3 separate regions of the Homo sapiens genome follow, and all the other regions are linked to region 1. The links are contacts of gene promoters, found by promoter capture Hi-C in human tissues and cell types (Jung and others, 2019). All regions are on one chromosome and are shown on one strand. The core of a region is centred on a gene start or on the middle of the fragment in contact, and the rest is flanking DNA. Distances in the headings are between cores, read along the strand shown. Region 1 holds the start of ADM5 (adrenomedullin 5 (putative)). Region 2 overlaps MED25 (mediator complex subunit 25). Region 3 overlaps NUP62 (nucleoporin 62).

Region 1 (2,700 bases), core at 37-2,536:
CCCCCTTCCTCTCCCTCCCTCCCGCAGAAGGGGGTTTTAGGGGCCTGGGCTGGGGGGATGGGGAGGGCACATCGTGACTGTGTTTTTCATAACTTATGTTTTTATATGGTTGCATTTACGCCAATAAATCCTCAGCTGGGGTCTGGCTTTGTTTCCTGGGGGCAAAGGAGGTTTGGGGTTCCTTTCGCAGGTACTGCAGTGCCAGCCTCAGCAGTGGGGGGACCGGCCTTGGCACCTGCTGGTGGCTGCCATTCTGTGGATCTGCGTCTCCCGTCCCCCGTCTCTAGGCCTCTTGCTCCCCTTCCTTGGTTCCTTCTCGGGGTCCCTGTCCTCCACAGCTGTCTCTCAGGGTCTTTGTCCAACTCTTTTCATCCCTCTCCTGGGTCTGCGCCCCTCCCCTCTGCGGTACCCGTGTCCTGCCTAGTAGGGGATGGGGGTGGCTTTCCAGCACAGCCAGCCCTCAAGTTTCCCAGAACAGTCTCCCCACCTCCCCCCAACACTCGACATTGTTCCTCTCTGGCTGTTTTTTCCTGTTCGGGTCCCTTCAAGGCCCAACTGTGCCCAGCCCTCTGCAGCTGGGGACACTGAGTGGGTTGGGGGTGTATGTTTGCAAGGATAGAATTTCTCATGGGGGAGTGGCCCTGCTTCCTCCCCTAGAATGGCTTGGGGCTTAGGGCTGGGGACTTGCCCTCCATGGAGGTCAGTGGGAGTTGCAGCTGTAAGGTGGCAGGGCCTACCCATCTTACAGAGGTGAAGACGAGGTCCCTCTGCCTCTGCTGCAGACATGGCGTCTGCACCCACCCTTCCACCCTCAGGGCCTGGCCACGGGGTCCTGGGTCCCCCACAATACTGTGCACTCGACCTGGTTGACCCAGGACACCCTCCTCGTTGAACAGCCCTGGCTACACCTGCTTCAGTGCAACTGGAGCCCTCACCGGCGAGTGCCTGACACCTCGGCCTTTTCTCTTCCGGAGGGGCGCTCCTCAGTGTGTTTGGGGTCTCCCTCGCTCCACGCCCTCCAGGGGGCCGCATGTGCACTTGCCCTGCATTGCCTGGCCCCCGAGGTTCCAGGGTCCCAACTGTCTACTAACCGGCTTCCCGACAGGGTGAGGGTGAGGTCGCATCTACAACCAGAGCCAGCGCTTCCCCGCCGCCACCCCTTTTCTTGGAATCCCGCTGCTTAGCTACCTGCGGGTGTCATTGGCCCCGCCCCATTTCCCCACGCTTTGAAGGGGGCGAGTCTCCACAGACCTCCTAGGGGGATAGACAGCAGCTGGTGTGACCCCACACACCCAGTGAGGTCTCTGGAGCCGCGGTGCGGGAAGCGGGGACCCGGGTTTGAATCCTGCCCCTCTGGTGTGGTGCGGCCTCTTCCCACAGACTTTTGGCCTCAGTGTTCCCCGCCTGGGAAGTGGGGACTGGCCCTGGTACCTGGCTCCAGAGCTGCACCCAGAGGCGATCAGCCCGGTGCGGGAACGGGGCGGGGTGGCCGCAACTACGGGCCACGGATCCTGACCCGCCCTGCCCACGATGACTATCCACATCCTCATCCTGCTGTTGCTCCTCGCCTTCTCCGCCCAAGGGGACCTGGACACTGCAGCCAGGTGAGAAACCCGGGTGGCAGCAGGGACAGGGCGGGAGGGAGACCGTAAAGGGCGAGCGCCCTCTCCCGGCCGCGGAACGGGCAGGTGATCTGTAAGCCTCCCCGCTGGTCTTGGAGTGCTTGGGTGCCCACCTCCATCACGCTCCATCTCTCAATTCGGTTTGAACCCGGTTTTCTCCCACGCTCCCTCTCCAGGCGAGGCCAGCACCAGGTCCCCCAGCACCGCGGGCACGTCTGCTACCTGGGCGTATGCCGGACCCACCGCCTGGCGGAGATCATATACTGGATTCGCTGTCTCCACCAAGGAGCCCTCGGGGAAGGCCAGCCACGAGCCCCAGGACCCCTACAGCTATGGGCGCCGCCGGTGGCGCGAGGCGGAAGCCCGGCTCGGTTCCCAGGATTCCGGCCTGCAGCGAGGGGGCTAGCGCAGTGCCCAGCTCGCTGGGTGACCTCGGGCACGGCTCGTCCCCTCCTCGGCTTCAGTTTGCCTATCTGTATGTTGGAGCTTCTACTCCACATTTCTTCTCCCCTAACTCCAGCCCCTGAAACCGTCTTCCCCAGTCCCTCCCCGGGCTGCGACTAGGTTGGACCTAGAAGCACACGGGACCAGGCTGGGCGAAGAACACTGACGCCCAGAGCCGAATAAACAAGAGTTCCGTGTTTCAGTCTCTGCTTCTCTGTACCTATTTCGACCTCTCAGTCGAGGCTGGGTCTCTAATATACCTTTCTCTATTAGCCATGCTGCTTCTCCCTCACGGAAGTCCCACTGTCTACCTTGAATCCAACCCGCTGTGGCGCCTTTCTTGCCAACTCAATCCATGCACCTTCCGTGGGTGGTTTTGGCGGGCCGTCCTGACCCCCAAACATCCCTCCTCCCTCCCTGGCGTGAAAGGGCTGAGATTTGCTCCGGCACCCTACGCGCCTGACGTTATAATGCACCTGGGGTGGGCTGCGACCTCCCAGCTGAGCCTTGTTCCTCGAAGAGACAGGAGACTAAGAGACAATGAGCTGAGTGAGGAGCCCAGGAACCCGGGTTCCGAACAGCTGCGTAGAATGCGAGCGGCCAAATGGTGGAGAATCTGGCCGGGTAAAAGGAG
Region 2 (2,700 bases), core at 64-2,563, 130 kb after region 1:
AATTAATCAGGTGTGGTGGCATGTGCCTTGTAATCCTAGCTACTCAGGAGGCTGAGGCAGGAGAATCACTTCAAGCCAGGAGGTGGAGAGATCGCACCACTGCGCTCCAGCTTGGGTGACTGACTGACTGAGACCCTGTCTCAAAAAAAAATTGTTTTTTTTGTGGAGACAAGGTCCTGCAATGTTGCCCAGGCTGGTTTTGAACTCCTGGTCTCAAGTGATCCTCCACTTCAGTGTCCCTAAGTGCTGGGATTAGAGGCATGAGATGCTGCACCCAGAGGCCCCACTAGGCTCTTTGTAATCAAGTCTTGGAAGTTACACGTCATGTCATTATTTCTGTTACATTCTTTTTTTTTTTTTTTTTTTTTTTTTGAGACAGAGTCTCGCTCTGTTGTCCAGGCTGAAGTGCAGTGGTGCGATCTCAGCTCACTGCAAGCTCCGCCTCCCGAGTTCACGCCATTCTCCTGCCTCAGCCTCCTGAGTAGCTGGGACTACAGGTGCCCGCCACCACACCCAGCTAATTTTTTGTATTTTTAGTAGAGACAGGGTTTCACTGTGTTAGCCGGGATGGTCTCGGTCTCCTGACCTTGTGATCCACCCGCCTCGGCCTCCCAAAGTGCTGGGATTACAGGCGTGAGCCACCGCGCCTGGCCTACATTCTGTTTTTTAACCTGAGACAGGGTCTTGCTCTGTTGCCCAGATTGGAGTGCAGTGGTGGGATCATAGCTTGCTGCAGCCTCGACCTCTCGGGCTCAAGTGATCCTCCCACCTCAGCCTCCTGAGTACCTAGGACTGCAGGTGGGCACCACCATGCATGGCTGATTTCTTTATTTTAATTCTTGTAGAGATGAGGTCTTGCTGTGTTGCTCAGACTGGTCTTGAACTCCTGGCCTCAAGCGATCCTCCTGCCTTGACCTCCCTAAGTGCTGGAGTGCTGAGATCACAGGCCTGAGCTGCGGTGCCAAGTCCACTTCTGCCATACTGCATTTGGTGTGCAGTATAAGCCTATCCCGTTCAGTGTAGGAGGAGACTACCCAGTGTGTAAATAGCAAGAGGCTGGATTGCTGGGTGCTGTATTGGGGGCTGGGTACCGCAACCTCACAGCGATGTTTGGAGAATTAAGTTAGTTGATGATGTTTAATACAGTGCCTGGCATGTATTAAGTGCCGTGTAAGTGTTTCCTAGGATTTTGTGCCTCACTCTCCTGGTTTGCAAATGGATAATGGTCGCGTGTATCTCCGTGTTGTTAGAAGATCACAGGAGCTAAGTTGCTTGCTGTGTGTCGCTTAGGGCCTGGTCTGCAGTCAAGGTTCATTAAACAACACCTGTTCGTAGCGGCCGTTACCTCTGTATGCTTCTGCAGCAGGTGTTTGTTGAGTATCTGCTTTGTTCCAGTATGTGCGTGCAAGTGCTGGGTGCAGGACATATAGTGAAAAGGTGACACAGAAGCTTCCCCTTCGCGGTAGCTGGAATTCGTAGGTAACACAGAGCAGGGTTTCTCATCCTTGGCCCTAGTGACACTGTGGACACAGTCATTCCTTGTAGTGGGGGCCGTCCTGGGTATTGTAGGATGTTTAACATCATCCTTGGCCTCTACTCACTAGATGCCGGTAGCCCCCTCCCAAAGGTGTGACAACCAAAAATGTCTCCAGGCATTATAAAATATCCTCTGGGAAGGGGGCGCAAAATGTATTCCATTTGAGACCACTGGGAGAGACCGGTAAGACAGTCTTGAGTGATGTTAAATGGAGACTTCTTGAGGCCCAGGTCCAAGTCTGATGCTCCTCAAGTGCCTGGCAGCCAGCACAGGGCCTGGTACACAGGAGGCCTCGGGTAAATTCTGTAGAATGAATGTCCAGAATGCATTTAATACTAACCACCCTGGAAGACACTGCATAGCCTTCCAGACCCAGCTCAGGTGTCTTATACCCTGGGAAACCTTCCCGATTCTTGCAGCCAGATGCTTCCTCCTCTGCCTCCATGACCTGTCACAGCCCCACACCTCTGGACTGTGAATGTCCAGGTCCCTGGGTGCTTCTGCCATTTGCTTCCAGCTGGGGCTTGGCACCCACGGGGCTTCAGGAGACTGGCTGAATAAATGAATTAGTATGTAATACAAAAACAACAAATAAATAGAAAAAATTAACCAGGCATGGTGGTGCACACCTGTAGTCCCAGCTACTCAGGAGGCTGAGGTAGGAGGATCAACTGAGACTGGGAGGCAGAGGTTGCAGTGAGCCGAGATTGTGCCACCGCACTCCAGCCTGGGTGAAAGAGCGAGACCCTGTCTCGGGAAAAAAAAAAAAAAAAAAGAGGTGGAAGGAAAATAGACCCAGTGTGTTTCCCATAACATTATGACAACTCAGTTGTTCATTCATATGTTCACTCATTAATTCAACAAATGTTTGTGGAACAAATCGTCCTGGGCACCAAGGAGTTAGTGGGCATGAGATAGGCAAGGTCCTGGCCCTCATGGAACTAGTTTGCCTGGGTGACAGGCCGTGTGTAGGGAGCCCTTGGTCATGGCCGGATGCTGTTAACATTCACTCATTTTGACCTCCTGGGGCTCCAGGCACCTGTTAGCCGATGAAAGCGGGCAGCAGAGACCCCGGGGAATGATACTGGGTAGAACAAATGGGAGTAAGTTAGAGGACTTGGGAACACCAAGTCAGAGCCCACTTGTGTCACCTAGGGGGCTTT
Region 3 (2,700 bases), core at 201-2,700, 220 kb after region 1:
GGGGGCCCCGGACGTGTTCAGGTGCTCGATGATGTCCTTGAGATCCTGGGCCATGCGCTTGAGCTGTGCATCGATGTTCTCAGCCAGCTTGTAGGTTTTCTCACGCTCCTCATCCGCGTGCTGCAGGTAGATGGTCCCGCTCTGCTCCTTGACCAACTCCTCCAGTGGGCTCAGCAGGTCTTCCAGCTCCTTCTGCTGGGACAGGATGAAGTCGAGCTCCTGGTCCAGCCTCTTCTGGTCCAGCTTCACCTTCTCCACCTCGCGGTGCAGGCTGGTGATCTTTTCTCCATTCTCGATCAGCGTGCGGTCCCAGGCGTTGACCTGGGTGGCCTGCTGGAGGAAGTGCCGCTCCTGGTCCTCTAGCTCCAGGCTCCATTTGTTGATCAGGCTCTCCAGCTGCGCGTAGGTCATGGCGGAGCTGGCAGCCGCCCCTGCAGCTGCGCCAGGGCCAGGTGGAGCGGTCACGGCAGCTGCTGTATTGCTGGGGATCCCGGCTGGCGCCAGTGGTTTTAAATTCAAGGCAAAGCCGGTGGTGCTGCTGCTGCTGGTGGTGGTGGCGGTGGCGGTGGCAGCGGTGGATGTTGTTGTGGAGGTGCCGGAAGCTGCTCCAGGTGCCTTTAAGCTGAAGCCCTGTGTCCCAGCAGTGGGGGCGCCCGCTGTGGTCACAGGGGTACAGAGGGAGAGTCCAGTGGTGGCAGATGAGGTTGGAGCAGTTGCTATTGACGCAAAGAGGCTGGGCCCAGTGCTGGTGATGGTGGCTGTGGGTGTGGGAGCAGCTGGCTGTGTGGCACCTGCTGTGGTGGCTGCTGGCGTGGCCGGAGTGAAGGGCAACGTGGCAGGTGCCGTGGGCTGGGCTGAATTCCCTGCTGAGCCAATGTTGAAACCGGAGGGTTGGGCCGTGCTTCCACCAGTGAATGAGAAGCCTCCAGATGTGGTAGCTGGAGCCACAGAGGTGGTGGAGGGGCCAAACACAAAGCCGGTGGGTGCTGTGCCCTGGCTGGAGGTGACGGTGCTCGATATGGCATTAGTGAGGTTGCTGCTGCCCAGCCCAAAGCCGCTGGGGTTTGCCATGGCTGGGGTGGCAGCTGTGTTGCTCAAGTTGAGCTTTGAAGCACCGATCCCCAAAGAAAATCCAGTTCCCCCCGAAGCAAGAGTCGCTGTTCCAAAAGTGAAGCCTGTCGTCTGTGTGGCCGGAGTCTGGGTGGCAAGTGAGAACAGGCCGGTGGAAGGGGTACTTGTGGCTGGTTGGAAGGGAGCCCCAAAATTAAACCCTCCAGTGCCAGAGGTGGAGAAAGAAAACCCTGTAGCAGGTGTGGTTGTTGCCGTCTTTGCAGTGCCAAACGTGAACCCGCCTGTAGGGGCCCCAGTGCCTCCAAAATTAAACCCGCTCATGGCTCCGGACTCTGGTGGCGGCAGCTACTCTGGCTCCCAAAGCAAATCCGTCGGTGTCTGCAGCCTTGGGAAGATTTCTAAAGCAGAGGAAGTGACATTGTCAGATGGCAGTTTTGGAAAGGCAAGCTCAGTGGCATGACTGGGCACAGTCGGTTTGGAGGGTGGTGGGATGGGATAATGATGCATGCTGTGTAACCTAAACTAGGCTCTGCTACATCGAGAAGGATCCAGAAGCACAAAAGCACGCCCCAGGGGTCAGGTACGAGGAGCCGGGGTGCTAGGGACGTGCGTGGCCATGTTCAGCCCAGTGGAAAGCTCCCACTCTGTGGAGGACGAGGCGGGAGAACAGGACCTTGGACCCACCTCAGCCTGAGGAGATCAGATTTGAGGCACTGCCACAAGCGGGACTAGGACACACAAGAACAGCTGTAGGACCTGCTCCCAGCGTGGGACCCAGTGAGGTTCCCTGGCTGACTCTAGCAGGGTGTGAGCGGATCAGCTCTTGCCACCCTGAGGGCCTCTCTGGACCTCAGAGAGAGAGATGGGGCCGGGAACCCAGGCTGGATGGCAGGGTCTGGGTTGCTGAAGGCCCCCCAGGCCCACACCTGCACTCTCTAAGAGCAGGAGAGGACACTGGAACTCCTCCTCCTAACTCAGGGGAGGGTCTGAAACCCATGTGCTCAGAGCACAGATGCCCCTGGCTGCAGTGATTGGCTCAAGGATAAACTGAGACCTGAGCCAGGCAATCGGAGCCTCCCCTGGGGTTTTCTCCAGGCTTGGAAGGCAGCTGCCTCCTTCACCTGTAGGTGTGGTGTGGAGGATTGCACCTGGGCCTCCCTTGGACACCTTCTCAACCATCTGCAGACACTGGGACATCACGGGAGACCATGAGCCCCACCAGAGATGGGTGGGGGTGGGGGTGGGGGAGGGATAAAGAGCACCCCAGAAGACCCATGGGCCACAGTATTTCCATTCAGTTCAAACTGACTTGATTTTGGTAATGTCTAACTGAAAAATCTCCCAGTGGTGCCATCTATCAGCAGGAAGGTCAAAGGTTACCTGGTGAGGAAAGGGTGAGAGGGAGTGCTGAATAGGGGTGGTTTCTTTTTCTTTTGGGAAAGGGTTTTTTTCTGTCATACTAGCTGGAATGCAGTGACATGATCACAACTCACTGCAGCCTCAACCTCCTGGACCCAAGTGATCCTCCCACCTCAGCCTCCCAGAGTAGCTAGGACTACAGGTGCATGCCACCATGCGTGGATAATCTTTTTTATTTTTTGTGGAAATGGGATCTCACTCTGTTGCCCT

The links. The method cuts DNA at HindIII sites, captures the fragments that hold promoters and counts their contacts. A contact is called where the count stands out against the background at its distance.
Region 2: a fragment that was not itself captured here is called in contact with the fragment with the promoter of ADM5 in region 1 in 2 of the 25 tissues and cell types used here (heart left ventricle and pancreas).
Region 3: a contact is called between a fragment that was not itself captured here and the fragment with the promoter of ADM5 in region 1, in 1 of the 25 tissues and cell types used here (pancreas).

The regions. Positions count from the first base shown.
Region 1 is chr19:49,688,308-49,691,007 of GRCh38, forward strand. ADM5 (adrenomedullin 5 (putative)) reads left to right here and starts at 1,287. Exons shown (of 2, transcript NM_001101340.2): 1 at 1,287-1,604; 2 at 1,799-2,268. The coding sequence starts at 1,531. The coding sequence ends at 2,186. PRMT1 (protein arginine methyltransferase 1) reads left to right here. Exons shown (of 11, transcript NM_001536.6): 11 at 1-140. It also overlaps a transcript of CPT1C not described here. RefSeq lists an enhancer at 1-368 and a silencer at 1,677-1,746. The HindIII fragment of the contact is 11,781 bases long and covers 1-2,700 here.
Region 2 is chr19:49,822,294-49,824,993 of GRCh38, forward strand. The region is part of intron 3 of MED25 (mediator complex subunit 25); the gene reads left to right. Among named protein-coding and RNA genes, the nearest start is that of MED25, 5.4 kb to the left of the region's middle. The HindIII fragment of the contact is 3,177 bases long and covers 1-2,700 here.
Region 3 is chr19:49,908,416-49,911,115 of GRCh38, forward strand. It overlaps NUP62 (nucleoporin 62), which reads right to left. Exons shown (of 3, transcript NM_016553.5): 3 at 1-1,469. The coding sequence starts at 1,392. It also overlaps a transcript of IL4I1 not described here. Among named protein-coding and RNA genes, the nearest start is that of IL4I1, 13 kb to the left of the region's middle. RefSeq lists an enhancer at 1-222 and a silencer at 1,960-2,039. The HindIII fragment of the contact is 3,328 bases long and covers 1-2,700 here.